Linked DNA regions of Homo sapiens: all the other regions are linked to region 1. The links are contacts of gene promoters, found by promoter capture Hi-C in blood cells and fetal thymus (Javierre and others, 2016). All regions are on one chromosome and are shown on one strand. The core of a region is centred on a gene start or on the middle of the fragment in contact, and the rest is flanking DNA. Distances in the headings are between cores, read along the strand shown.

The links. Contacts are between HindIII fragments. The CHiCAGO score rates a contact against its expected background, and 5 or more counts as called.
Region 2: a contact is called between a fragment that was not itself captured here and the fragment with the promoter of MRGPRX2 in region 1, in 1 of 17 cell types (M2 macrophages). The highest score is 6.1, in M2 macrophages.
Region 3: a contact is called between a fragment that was not itself captured here and the fragment with the promoter of MRGPRX2 in region 1, in 1 of 17 cell types (M0 macrophages). The highest score is 5.3, in M0 macrophages.

Annotation. Positions count from the first base shown.
Region 1 is chr11:19,058,744-19,063,717 of GRCh38, forward strand. MRGPRX2 (MAS related GPR family member X2) reads right to left here and starts at 1,974. Exons shown (of 2, transcript NM_054030.4): 1 at 1,876-1,974. The HindIII fragment of the contact is 233 bases long and covers 1,762-1,994 here.
Region 2 is chr11:19,808,886-19,813,859 of GRCh38, forward strand. All of the region lies in intron 1 of NAV2 (neuron navigator 2), which reads left to right. Among named protein-coding and RNA genes, the nearest start is that of MIR4694, 51 kb to the left of the region's middle. The HindIII fragment of the contact is 962 bases long and covers 1,833-2,794 here.
Region 3 is chr11:19,770,792-19,775,765 of GRCh38, forward strand. The region is part of intron 1 of NAV2 (neuron navigator 2); the gene reads left to right. Among named protein-coding and RNA genes, the nearest start is that of MIR4694, 13 kb to the left of the region's middle. RefSeq lists enhancers at 1,366-1,873, 1,874-2,382. The HindIII fragment of the contact is 3,025 bases long and covers 1,326-4,350 here.

The sequences.
Region 1 (4,974 bases), core at 724-3,223:
GTGTATGTCTGTTTTTTCTTTTACTTCCCTCATTAAGCTCAACATTTTTGTTGTGGTTGTTCACTATTATATCCCCAGCCTCCAACACATATCCCTTGGAGGCCATCTATTGTAATACGCTCATTTAACAAAGAAAGACAGGCTTAACGTGTACAAAAGAGTTTCCTGAATCACATGGTGAAAAGCAGGTCCAATACCAGCTCCAGTCTCCTGGGGCCCTGTCCTAGGTTTATTTCTGTTCCATGTCTACATCATTCACTATTTGTGAGGCAGTGTTGAGAAAAATCTCCAGGTGAGCACAGATGCTAAAAGAGAATCGGGCTATAGAGACTGCTTGTTGCCCCAAAAGCCATTCTCCTTTTCTCACACATAATAATTCTGAGTCTTAGATCAGAAAAAGGCCCATTTCTCAGCTTCCCTTTATGCTAATGGCACCATGTAACCATATGTGATGGTCAAGGGGAGGTGAGAGAAAGTGATATAACCAGCTACTCCTGTACTCTTTCTTTTTTTCTCTTCTCTCTGGCTGGAATGCTGATGTGTTTGGGAGCCATGTAGGACCATGAGGGTAAGGGTACCGCTTTAGGGATGGGGAAATAGAAATTGGAAGGAGCCTTGATGTTTGATGTCTTAGAGTTATCAGCCCAAGTCTAGTAAACATTCTTTTTGATTATCACTATAATAGGTTTCTTTTTAGAGAAGCCAAAATCATAAACTTACATTACACATACCTGTGTACTTATAGCTGGGAGTACCTATGTACTCCCAATCCCTTTTTTTCCCAACCACATTCCATTCTCAAGGCATTTATGATGATAGTGAGAGACTAGTCCAAAGAAGTGACACTAGATGGGAAGGTCAAACAATTAAAAAAAAGGGAGGTGATAGAATGAGAAATTGATTCAATCACATTAATAGAGAAAGTCTCAGGAAAGACAAACTGAGAAGAGGCTATGGGAAGAAATGGACTTTCCTATTTGCTATTAGGATCTCATGTCCATCCTTCTCTACCTGCCTTTGCATCCTGGGAGGAGACATGTCTGTGCCTCGTCAATGGGCTGTCTTTCACTCAGGCTCCAAAGGGTACACATTGACAGGAGATTGGAGGGTGACTTTTTTTTTCAGCCAAAGGGACACATTGACAGTAGATTGGGGGATGATTTTTTAAAAATTTCCTGGCTCTCTCCCTGCGCCCTGAAGGGCTGTGAGTTGGCAGTGGCAGTGTTTTTCTACCTAAGGACATAGCCCTGCCTGGTGGCCCTTTCCTGTAGCCACAGCTATAGTTACAGTTACAGTTACCGCTACAGCACATTCTGAGTTCTCAGAACTTCTCTTTCTCCTTATCACTTCAGACCTAGCAACGGTAACAGCCCTCCACTATCACTTGCCTTTGAGGGCTTCATCATTCCTTAATCCCTGTTCACGCCGTTGTAAACAGTCTCTTCACTAAACTCCTCTAAACTACCCCTTTAGAGTGTGTGATGTGTGTTTTCTGCTGGGACAATGACAGATATGAAGGAAAAACCTTTTGAATAACAAGAAAATCAGTGCAACCTGAGGTTTTAAATAACAATTTAGCTTAGGGAAGTAATGACTTCATTCTAGCCTGCCCCTAAATTAAAATCAGCAAAATCTTTCTCTCCATAGTTTCAGATTTGAATGGTCGAAGAGAAGGGGAGAATATTGGTAGATAGAAGAGAAGTGGGACGAACCTGCTTGACCCCATTCGGATCTCCCAGCATCTAAGCTGCCAGCATCCAAAGCTTCCTCAAAGGAGCTTCCTGTCTTCTTTTCCTAATGAATTCATCAGGATGTGGACTAAGGTAAAAACCAAAACTGCCTTTGAAAGAAGATGGTTCTTGAACAAACTCTTACCTTAACACCCTTCTTTCTACTGGAGTTGGTGAGTTGAGAAGTGCTTTCCTGGGACTGGCAAACAGCTGAGGATGGGGAGATGCCTGCAGGATCTGGAGTGAAACCTGATGACTGAGTGAAGCTTATCAAGATGCTCAACAACCCTGTGATTTCCTGTACAGAGGGTGCTGGAAAATAAGAGTATGACACAGGAAACCACATGAGATGTTTCTCAGCATTTGCCCTGACTCCAATCACTTATCTTGGTTTCTCCCCTACCCTCTCCGGCCCCACTCCCTGCAAGGAATCACCGTCCTGAAGTCTTTCATTGCCCACAATGAGCATCCAGGAAGCAGACCAATCAAGCGACGTGAGCTTTCATAGCTAAAGAATAGTCTGCCCTCTTCTGCTTGGCATTCAAGGCCCTGGCTTACTTGACCTTTCAAAATCAGGTTTATTTCAAATGACACTAAGGTGTATAAAATGAAATGCAAAGTCTCTCGAAGTCTCATTCCCCAAAAGCAACCACTGCATACAGTTTCCATTCTTTTTTTTAAAAAAGCTTTGCGTAATAAAACAACATTTCTATTTTTGATTTATCGATGTTAACAACTAGATATATTGAGTCTCCTTATAAAATATAGGGGACTTAGCACATCACATGCACCATCTGTCACGTTTCTCCCTCTACATCATGATATTTATTAGCTAGATTATTTTTAGATCATCTAGAGCCAACCAATATTTTCAGCCTTATCTCCTATGACTTCCTTTCATGTGCCTATGCTGCAGCCAAATTGAGTTATAAGTAACAATTATGAAGCATTTAAGACAATCAGAAGAAATTATTCACTCATTTATTCATTCATTCAACACTGTTTATTGTTTGCCTATGATATGTCAGGTACCGTTCCAGGCAATGAAGACACAATGATGAACACCATACAAGATCATGCCCCTTTGCATTCCAGAGCAGCTGGGTGACCTCAGACAGGGAACATGTGTTGATTGAGGCGAGTTCTGAGACTCAGCATTTTCTTGTATTATACTTTGGTGCAGTGGGTAAACCATGCATTTGTCCCCAGAAATCTGCTTTCCTCATGAGCAGCAGCAGGACCTTAGAAAGCTTTAACTTCTGTTACTGTCTAACCTACTGTGCTCTATTATTTGATTTTGATTCTGTTTCCCTCCAACAAATGAAACACTTATTATTGTTTTAAATAGTCAGTGTTTATTCAGATTTATCCACATAATCACCAATGCTTTTGCTCATCCTCCCATTTTACATCTCATATCTTCCATTTCTCAAAACACATTCTTCAGGAGTTCCTTCTGTGAGAGTCTCTGCATGGTAAATGCCTCCTTTTATCTATCTGAAAATGTCATTGTTTCACCCTCGTCTTCTAAAGATGGTTTTTCCAGGCATGGCATTGTAGGGTGATAGTTTCTTTCTTCCAGCACATTGAAGATCCATGTTCTGACTGCCAGGGTTACTGTTGCGGCCATCAGTCAGGTTGCCATTTGCTTGTGGTGATCTGCCTTTTTTTCCTCTAAGAGCTTTTATTTTTCTCTGCTATGATACATTCTCACCAAATTGTATCTGGTGACTCTTTTTCAAATCATGTTTGGGATTTGTGGAGTTTCCTAGATTTTAAAATTATCATCATTTAACATTTTTAAACAATTTAATGCTATAATCTCTTTAAATATTAACATAACGGTGAAGAACACAAGACCAGGCTACTTGGCATTTCTCCTATGGGACCTTAGCCAGATTTTGTAACTCTGTTATGTTTGTTTCCTCATCAGTAAAATGGGGATAACATTATTAATCTATAGGTTTGCTGTGAAGATTAATAATTTAATGTATATAAATGATTTACAATAGGAGCACATAGTAAGTACTATAAAATTATTAGCTCTCATTATCACTTTTAGTATTATCTCTTTCTGGAAGTCTAATTCAACATATGTTAGCCCTCTTCTTCTATCATCCTTATTTCTTTAACCTTTTCCTTATGTCTCGTCTCTGTCTCTGAGGCTGCTTTCTGGGTAATTTCTTCAGATGTATCTTCCAGTTAACTAGATTCTTTCCATTGTGTCTAATCATCTGTTTAATCTATCCACTGAAGTTTAAATCCAATTTTTATATTACTAATTTCTAGAAGTTCTATTTTATTTTTTTAAAATTATACTTTAAGTTATGCGATACATGGGCAGAACGTGCAGGTTTGTTACCTACGTATACACATGCCGTGGTGGTTTGCTGCATCCATCAACCCGTCATCTACATTAGGTATTTCTCCTAGTGCTATCCCTCTCCTAGCTCCCCACCCCCTGAGAGGCCCCAGTGTGTGATGTTCCCCTCCCTGTATCCATGTGTTCTCATTGTTCAACTCCCACATATGAGTGAGAACATGCAGTGTTTGGTTTTCTGTTCCTGTGTTAGTTTGCTGAGAATGATGGTTTCCAGCTTCATCCACGTCCCTGCAAAGAACATAAACTCATCCTTTTCTTACGGCTGCATAGAATTCCATGGTGTATATGTACCACATTTTCTTTATCCAGTCTATCATTGATGGGCATTTGGGTTGGTTCCAGGTCTTTGCTATTGTTAATAGTGCTGCAATAAACGTATGTGTGCATGTGTCTTTATAGTAGAATGATTTATAATCTCTTGGGTATATACCCAGTAGTGGGATTGCTGAGACAAATGGTATTTCTGGTTCTAGATCCTTGAGGAATCGCCACACTGTCTTCCACAATGGTTGAACTAATTTGCACTCCCACCAACCGTGTAAAAGCGTTCCTATTTCTCCACATCCTCTCCAGCATCTGTTGTTTCCTGACTTTTTAATGATTTCCATTCTAACTGGTGTAAGATGGTATCTCATTGTGGTTTTAATTTGCATTCCTCTAATGACCAGTGATGATGAGCATTTTTTCATGTTGGTTGGCCATATAAATATCTTCTTTTGAGAAGTCTCTGTTCATATTCTTCACCCACTTTTTGATGGAGTTGTTTATTTTTTCTTACAAATTTGTTTAAGTTTCTTGTAAATTCTGGATATTAGCCCTTTGTCAGATGGATAGATTGCAAAAATTTTCTCTCATTCTGTA
Region 2 (4,974 bases), core at 1,064-3,563, 750 kb after region 1:
AATTACAATGTCTTACATCAAGTAAACTTGAGGGAACCTCTGGCATTTTTGAGTCCTTCTTTTAATGGTGAGGAAGAACCAAATGCAGAATCTTTATCTAAAAACAAATGGGAGCTTTTGAGTTAGAGCTCAGGGTTGTTAACTGGAGATTCCCAATACTTATTGTTTGGGCACAAATAGTTCTTTCATGGCCCTTTTGAATGGATCAAAGCAAAACCTGGAGTTTTGAATGGCTTCTTTTTTGTTAAGTCCTTTTATCCTGAACAGTTACTAATGAGTATTCTAGGAAATTCATGCATGCAGGAAGAATTTCTTGTGCATAATAACTAGGGTATAAACTTTATATTCACATACCCATGTATGTTGTTTGTGTGTTTACACACACATGAGAGTTTCTGAAATTTTCTGATCTCAAATCAAACATCAGGCTAGCATTCTGCCCTTGAAATGGCTAAATCCACATGTTATCCATGGAGGATTAAGAATTGGGTTTTCAAACCTGGTTGCACACCATAGTCAACTATGGAGCTTTGTAATTGTTCTTTTTTAAAAAATAAACTTTAAGACTAGATTTAATTTTACAGAAAATTTGATAGTACAGAAAGTTGCCATATACCCCACCCATTATTAACAACTAATATTCACATATTAGTTAGTGAACCCATGAACCCACACTGAAATATTATCAACTAAAGTCCATACTCTATTCTGATTTCCTTAGTTTTTACCTAATGACCTTTATCTGTTTCAGGATCCCATCCAGGATACTACATTTCATTTAGCTCTCATGCATCCTTAGACTTCTCTGGGCTTGACAGCTTCTCAGACTTGCCTTGTTTTTGATGCTTCTAATGGTTTTGAAAAGTTATAGTTAGATATTTTGTAGAATGGACATCATCGCTATTGCCCCCCAATTGGGATTTGTCTGATGCTTTTCCCCTAATTAGACTGAAGTTGTAGGTTTTGGAGAGGAAGAACACAGAGGTAAAGTGACATTTTTCATCCCATCCTATCAGGGTCATGCTATCAACATGACTTGCTAATGTTTATGTTAACCTCGATCACCTGGCTGAGATAGTGTTTGGCCGGTATCTTCACTGTAAAGTTACTCTTTCCCTTTTTTCCATGTTTTACTCTTTGTGCAGCCCACACTTAACCTTGAGAGCAGAACATCTACATACTTTATTTGAAATTCTATTTACATGGAAGATTTTTCTCTTCTATTTATTTAGTCAATCATTTCTTTGTGGCAGTATCAATTATTTCACACTTTGACTTATAATCCAATACTACCTTATTTTGTTGCTCAAATTATTTTGAGCTTGGTCAGCTTTGGCCATTGGGAGCTCTTTCAGTTGGCTCCTGTGTCACTTTGACATACTCCATCATTGTGTTTTGGAGTGGGGATATATGCCTACATTTTGGCACTATACTGTGCTCCAGGCTTATTTTAAATTCTTCCTGCCCCAGTCCAAGAATCATTTCTCCAAGGATCCCTGGTTCTTTTGGTTGGAGAATGCTATTGAAACCAAGATCAGGGGCTAGATCTGCTTGTTGCTACTGGGCTGTTGTTATTTTTAGAACTTTTCAGCTGAAAGAACAAGGATATGTACACGTATCTACGAATATCCTATCTAGATTCCTTTACGCTGACATGCTATATAGATCAGTATGTAATTTATACTGATAAACTATACTATAGTTTATAAACTGAAAGCAGTTTTTAGTTTCTATAGAGTCTTCAATTCTAATCCATTACCACATGGCTCATCCTAGCCTTCCATCTTTGTTCATCTGTAAGCTTTCACTCCAACAGTGAGAACATCCTGTGAAGCTTGTTAATAAACACACCTGGGCCTGGGCCTTATGGCCTGAGGTTGAGGTAGATGCCCACCTGGGATTTTGGCATCTGTATTTTAATAAGCTCTACACAGATTGAACTCTCCCAATATAGGCTGTCACAATGCCATATATTTCTCCTTTGTACCTTTTGTCACCGTTTCCCTTTGGCATCTTTTTATAATATCTTTATTTGACATCCTTATTTGATTAATATCTGTCAACTCCCTCAAGACAATAGGCTCTGTGTCAGTTTTGCTCATCATTCTGTCCTCAGAAAGGGTGCATTGTAGGTATTTATTAAATATTTGTTGAATGAATGGGTGGAATGACACACAGCAACACTGAGGAGGAAGAGAAAAATGTGTGTGATTTATCGAACTCTTCCTACATGCTAAACGGCTGTCTAGTTGCTTTCTAAATATTATCCAGTTCAGGGATTTGAATCAGGTCCGGCTGACATCAGAATCCACACCCTTTCTGTTGTGGAGTTCCTGCTGGTAGGAAGCCTCTTGTCTTCTGCTTTGCATGTCATGGGCTCTCCTACTGGACTGGATGGAGCTGTGTGGGTGGCCAAGGAGGAGGTCAGAGGGGGAGAAATGGCAGCACCCATTTAGAGTGTCACCCAGGCCTCATTAGGAAATTGACTCCCATTTGGTTTGGGAAGGGGGGTGTTTTTTCCTGCCTTTTCATGCTCACAATGAAGGTGACATTGATTTACAAGTCAGTGGGTTGGAGCAGGGAAGGGAGGCTTCTATGGGTGGAAAAGATCAATTAAATGATTATCCCAGCTGCCACACACTAATGCCTTTCTTACTGAGTTTCAAAATCAGGAAGCAGAAGGTTACCACATTTAGCCTTTTACAGGAAATCTAATTGCCAACCTTGTGGTGCCAAGGTTTATTAGATTGGGAAGAGTTGCTCTTAGTGGCTGGCAGTTTCTGGCATGACAGAAAGCTTTCCACTGGCCACCTGGAATTGTAAATGACTGCCTCCTCTTCCTTTTTGCGTGCTTTTGCTAAAGTTTTATGCAGATAGCCTTTTGTGATTTTTATCTTTTTGTGATTTTTATCTGGATTCTAGGGGGATGGTACTTAAGCTTGGTAAGCAGTCAAAAAAAATATTTATTCAATTCCTACTATGTGCTATGCCCTGGTCTAGTGGCTGAGAACTGCAGTGGTGAGCAAAACAGATACGCGTTGTCTTTAGAATCCTTTGCCTGGAATGGTCTTCCTATGGCTTAGTGGTTCCCAGACTGTAGTATGCATGAGGACCACCAGAATGCTTGTTCAAACCCAGTCTGCTGATTATTTTTTCCATCGCCTTTCCATGGTCCTGTCCACATTGAAAAAAGGCAATCTCAAGAGCAGACCAGAATTCAGTCCAGCAAGCAACTCTTGCACAAATTGCACGGCTAAGCTGCCACCCCCCACAATTTCTGATTCAATAGGCCTGGAGTGGGGCCTGATAATCTGCATTTATGATGAGTTCCCAGGCCATGCTAATGCTGCTGGTCTGGGAGAACCACCCCCTGAGCCTTTGCATGGTTGCTCTCTTCTTATCAGTTGGGTCTCTAATCAAATATTACCTGCTTAGAGAGGCCATTCTTGATTTCCCAACCACATTATCCCTCCACTCCTGGCCATTCACTCTCTAATGCATCTTCATAGCATTTATTATTCTCTAATATTAGTTTGCTTATTTTTTATTACCATTTTGTCTCTCTCTCCTACCTCTCATCCTCAGTAGAATAAAGCCTCATGAGAGCACTTCCTTAGACACTGTTGAATCCTCTAAGATTATCAGAGTACCAGAGTATGTGCTCAATAAATACCTGAATGAATTAAATAATTACAAGAGTAATGAGTCATATGAAGGAAAGACCTAAGATGCCTTGGTAGTGTAACAGGTAGACCTAAGGTGGAGCAAAGATATTGCATTTCATCCTACTTGGAGCAGTTTCTAGATGTGGCCTTAACACCTGATTTAAACACTGCATACCAGAGTTTTGTCTTCAAGGTTACAGGCTGTGGGATTTGTCTGCGATCATAGCAGGCCACTCTGGATTTGCTTAGTTTTTCCATCGCCTTTCTATAGTCCTGTCCACAATGAAAAAAGGCAATCTTAAGAGGAGACCAGAATTCAGTCCAGCAAGCAACTCTTGCACAAATTGCATCATGAAGTTGCCAGGCCCCTATCTCTGAGCTTGGCAGGAGGCAAGGCCTGAAATTTACTTCTTCTAATAACCTTCCACCTGAAGCCTATACTCATTCCCTTGTTGGAATCTGGAATCCGGCACCCATGCCAATGTCTCGGTAGCCTTTTCATAACCTCTACAAAGTTGAATGAAGGCTCAAACTCTTCTTTGCAGGAGTGAGACCTTTCGATGAAACATGTAGATTCCTCTCCTGCACTGGCCTTTTAGAGAAATGTAAGGGCAGGCACTGTTGTTTTTTCTTTTCAACAGAGTCAAGCAAAAGATGAGGCACATGGAGGCACCATGCGACTAAAAGCTCTGAGGATGATTGTCAAAACCCCACTGGAGGAGTTGGAAAGCATGTAAGGTTTTGCTCTTGTGTGGCCTCAGCAGCCACTGCCTGGTTCAAGTGAAGTTTGCACAGTCCCTTGGCCTAGAGCTTCATGCCCAGCTTTTGCCAAGCGTGGGCCAAGTGGGGGAATGATTCCCCAGGTTTGTTTGCCTGGGGCAGCCAAAGAAACAGTGATTTATTTCCCCTGAGTGTGTCATGAAAATGTAAGCACCGAGAGTTGGATTATTTTGGAGGGTGAGAATTTGATGGGGGAGATGGAGATGGAAGAATTGCAGCAGTTTGGAGTCAGGGCTGGGGGCCAGAGGGCCGCCCAGTGGGTTGGGGTAACATAAGCTGCCGCTATTCAGGAGGTGGCCTGTGTAAGAAAATCTGACCACAGCGGGTGCGTGACTTCAGCTAAAATTAACCTTGGAGGCTTCACACGCTTCCACAGTGCTTTGAACTAGACACTCCCAGAGAGGGCATGGGACGTTGACTGCTGAGGACTGCGCTGCTGCTGTGGGTTGAGCCATGCCTGTAAGCATCAACTTATGGGTTCCCGCTCGGGGTCAAAGTCGGGATTCCTGTGACCATTATAAAGTGGTAA
Region 3 (4,974 bases), core at 1,588-4,087, 710 kb after region 1:
AATCTTCACTCTCCAAAAGCTCTCCTTCTGGTAATACTTAAAAGAAAATGTCAAGTACATATCCAGATTCCCAGCAAACAAGTGAATCTTTAGCCTGGTGAGGGCATCATGAATTTCTGATTTCTTCGTGAGGTCTCACTCAAGATGCCTGTATGCCTAGTATTTTTGGCTTCCCGTTTCAGTGCAGTTTATATTCATTACATTTTTGATGGTACAGTGGAAAGGGGTCTATCTAGGGGACTCAGATTCTTCTGGAAAATTAGGGAGTAGGATGGGATGATCTTTAAATTCCCTATAGCCCTGACACTGAATCTGTCAATTCTATTTAATTATACCAATGATAAGCCCAGTACTATTCTGAGTACACAAAGATGAATAAGATAGAGTATCTGTTCCTAAGCAACTTATAATCCAGTTGTAATAATATTAATGTCATTGCTTACATCCATAACAACAAATGAAATGCACCTCTCTCCTACTATAAGAGGAGTTGTACTGTTTTAAAGGCCGTAGAGGAGATAGAAACAAAGTACTAAGAGCATTTACATACTTCTGATGAGTGGAAAGGATCCGAGAATTCACCAGCAGTTAGTTTTGCTCTGAGTCTTGAAAGATCAACGTGATATCAATTGGTAGAGAATGGAAGGAAAAACCTTCCATGCTGAGGGAACAGCCTGAGCAAAGGCATGGAGGTGTGACCATACATGACCTACTCCAGAGGAGTAGGCAGCCCACAGGGACATTGGGAGGGGTGATAGGAGACACTACTCTACCCAGAAATTCTTGACCCTCATCTGACCCCCCCCATTAGAAGGAAGAAAGTATCTGAGTTGTCGGGGGAGCCAGGAAGTGACAAATTAAACCCTGTCAAGGGAACATACTAAATGCAGTGGCATTTAGTATGCGCAATGGGGAGATCCCTTTACATAATTCTTTATCTCAAGAAAAAAGAAAAGGGAAGAGAGGAAGGAGAGAAATCCTTTGCTAGCCCAACCCAGCCCTTTCTGGGGGCGTATTCATTCATTCATTCATTCGTAGGCTTGTCAGTGTGACATTGTGTTTGCCCTCCTGAAAGCCATACATCTTACTTTCAAAACCTCCAACAGCCTTCAACCCCCTGCAGACCCCAGTGTTCCAAGGCTGACCTTTTGGTAGGAGGCTTACTCCCCTCCAAGGCTGGTGGAGGGGAGACGGCACCTCTTGTGCTCAGGCCTTCCTTGTCGCTGGCTTGTGGACAGGAGTCCTTTCTTCTCTAGGAAGGATTAGTGCTTTTCTTAAATTCGACTCTGAAGTTCTGAAAAGCCTACCAACTGTGTACTTCCACAAGCTTTTTATTTTAATTTTTATACATCTTCTTCCTTTCTTTCCAAGGTCTCTGGGTACCCCCAGAGAAGGAAAGAGACTAAGTCTTTAAGCTACTTGCAAAAATGTCTGCACACAGTTTGCCTTCATGATCCTAGAGATGGCATTTCTGGGGTTTCATTTCCTGCATGTAATATGACAGTAATGCAGACAACTGCAGAAATAGGGGACCAGGCAGGGAGGCCTGAGTTTTACTCCTGTTTGGTGGCTTTCAAGTCAGATGAAGAGGATCAATCACTCTCCATCTCTGAGCCTTTCTCTGCAAAATAGCAAAAAGGATCCTTTTCAGTATTGCTGTGATGAGGTATTTTCAGTATTGCTGTGAAAGGTGTCCAGTACCATGCTCAATAAATAGCCACTACTATGGCTAGGGTTTTCATGCGGCAGGCAATGTGAAGCTCTTCTGTGGTATTTTTATATTCAAGCCCAGCTATTTGGAGGCAAAATGGGCTCCCTCTGACAAGCTATCTAGCTCATTCCCTCCTCCCCATGGGGTGCCACAGTGCTTCTGATCCTTCTTTTGTCATTTTAAGACCATGTAAAAGCTGACATCCCCCCATCAGCCTTGCCTCATGTGTGGGTGGAGAGGCGTCAGCCCACATCATGCATGGGAGCAGTCTAGAGAGCCTACTTTGTCTGAAGTTCCCCTGGCCGGCCCCCACCGTGTCTGAGCTTTTTCCCATTAGTCATTGCTTTGGCTGAAAGAGTGGAAGACCCCTGTTAAACTGAAATATGTTATCTGGGAAATACATTAAGCCATTAACAGCTGGACACAAATTAGTTTATCAGACAGAGGCTGGGCTTGCAGAATTTAGGAGTGAGAAGGAACTTTATAGATCATCAGTTTCTTAGTGAAGAAAAGAAGGTCCACTGATGAGTAGCTCTTGCTCAAGGAAACACCAGTGGCACCTTTTGGGATGCCAGGCCTCAACCCTGCCTCCTGGCCTGAACCCCTCTTCATTCCACCTTGATGAGCAAGATGGACAGTCCAACTTTCATTCAGGAGATATTTATCATGTGGCTGCCATAGCTGGGCAGGTGCTGAAAATTCAGAGAAGCATGGGAGGCAGACATGGGAGTGTTGAGTGATTGAACGATGTGGGACAGGTCTCTTGTATGGTGGGACGGGAAAGGTCTGGAACAGAGGACACCACTCAGTGAAAGGCAGATCCAGACTCTGAGGGGTCAGCCCCACCAGGGGCTCCACAGTACCAGAACACTGGGACCCTACCTCGTGGCTACCATGAGAGTTCAAGAATGGTCATGCTCAGGGAGATAGGCTAAGCTGGCAGTCAGGGCCAGGGGATGGGTCAGAAAGCCATGAGCTGAAAAAAGAGGACAACAGCTGGAAGGCACCAGACCACACTTCAGGGCAGACCTTCATAAGCATTGTTCCATGTGGTCAACACAGACTGATCTCTTTCCGCTACTTCACATCAAAGGTCTTGGTGGAAGATTATGGAAATAGGAGGAAGGAGAAAGGTGGTAGGAGGGGTTTGGTGGATGAGGAGGTTGTGAGAAGCCACTTCTGTCTCTGCAAATCTACAGGGTCCTGACACCTGTGAACTCACAGCCATTACCCTTTGGAACCATCTGTACCATCATGCTGGTGATATCAGGCATCTCTTCCACTCACCTCTTCTTGCTTGGGTCCTCATACCCATCCCCTGCATGATTTCAACAGACATCTAATTGGTCTCCCTTCCTCCAGTCTCTACCTTTTTAAAGCTATCTTCTTGCTGTTACTAGGTCTTCTTAAAATGGGAGCTTGGACAAATCATTCCCCTATTTATAAGAATTAAGAATAGAGTGTCCTTTACAGCAATCTTGCTTGTCCCAGCCTACCAAATAACCCCATGTGATGTGAACACACAGAACCTGCCATGAACTTTCACCCCTCTACACCCTTGCACATGCTATTCCACCTTCCTGAGATGCTTCTCTCCTCTTGTCAAACCTGCCAGAAGCAGGTCAGCATCACCTCTGTGAAGTCCTTCCATGCTCCCCAGCCTTGTGCATTGTTCTTTTCTTTTTGCAGAGTTTGTGGAGGTCTTACTCTGTTGCCCAGGCTGGAGTACAGTGGAACCATCATAGCTCATTGCAGCCTTGAACTCCTGGGCACAAATGATCCTCCCACCTTAGCCTTCCAAGTAGCTGGGACTAAGGCATGCACAATCACACCTGGCTAATTTTTAAAATTTTATGTAGAGACAAGGTCTCACTATGTTGTTCAGTCTGGTCTTGAAATCCTAGACTCAAGCAATCCTCACACCTTGGCCTCCCAAAGTGCTAGGATTACAGGTGTGAGCTACCGCGCTCAGCCAGCTTTTTTCTTTATGACCCAGCTGTACACTATACAGGCCTCTTTTGTAGCACCTGTTGCATTACATTGCAACTGTTGGTGTATTTGTCCATTTTCTTACTAGACTGTGTGTGTGCATGGTAGGGACACACACATACACACAGAGAGAGACACATACCCCAGACAAGGAATCCTCCCTGATTCTCAACACCCTCGGCAAAGCTGGGTAAGTGCATCATGGTAGATGCTCAAGGAGTGTTTGCTAAATGAGCTAGAATACCTATGACCTAAGGTGTGTGAGATCTGAAGGGAAAGGTCACAGGCTTTATTCTCTTTAATTAAAGCTGAGGCAGGTACCTTCTGTATCTCCCTCCACACCTTCCCATCTCTCCTTGTACCATGAGTGGTATTTTTTCACCTTTTTCCAGCAAAGATTGGAAACTAGTTGCTCATTCAATGACTTTCTGCAGATGTATAGATCGTAAATGTTGTGGCTATCCTAGAAAGTATAATGAACCTAATGATGTTTTCCCAGAAAATGTATAAATCCCTGATCTTGCAGTATTTTCACACAATCAGGATTTTGGATTCTTTATCCAGCCACTCAACTCCAAGGAACTTTAGGCTTTAAAAAGCTGTGATAGAGATATCTTGTGTTTTGCTCTCTTAGCCAATAAGATTTGTCAAGCTTTATTTTTGGAAAAATTATTTTAGGATTTGTTTTCCAAATATATAAATATATTTTAATACAGAATATGCTTTTTCAAATGACACATGCTCTCTCATTTCTGATATGTTGTCCTAGCCTGTGCCCCTTCCCTTGAGACAGCAAATATTGCTGCCTCTGTTTCATTCTTCAGAAATGTGTGTAGAGATGTACATAGAAGGGCCTCTTGTAGTCATTCAGTCTAAGTTAGGGCCCGAGGCAGGATGTGGGATCTGCTGCCTGGGTCTGGCTCAGTCCTAGCTGTAGAGGAAGCTGCATGGACGGACACTAGGACAATCATCAACAGCCTTTCATTTGGGAAACATTTACTGAGCTCCCACTATGGGCCACACATTGTTCTGGGTACTGGGGAACAGTAGGGAAACAAAACAGACAAGGTTGTTGGAATTTGTAGTCTAGTGGGACAAGGCAGAAAAGAAACAAGAATACAGGTTAGCTAAGTTAACTCAGTAGGCAAAACAATGACGATGAGACAACAGTAATGGAGTGGAAGAGAGTGTGGGAACGAGAAGTTTCAACATTAGGAGTCAGAAGTCTCCCTGAAGAGGTGCCATTAGACATGAGACCATGGGCAAGTCTAGGG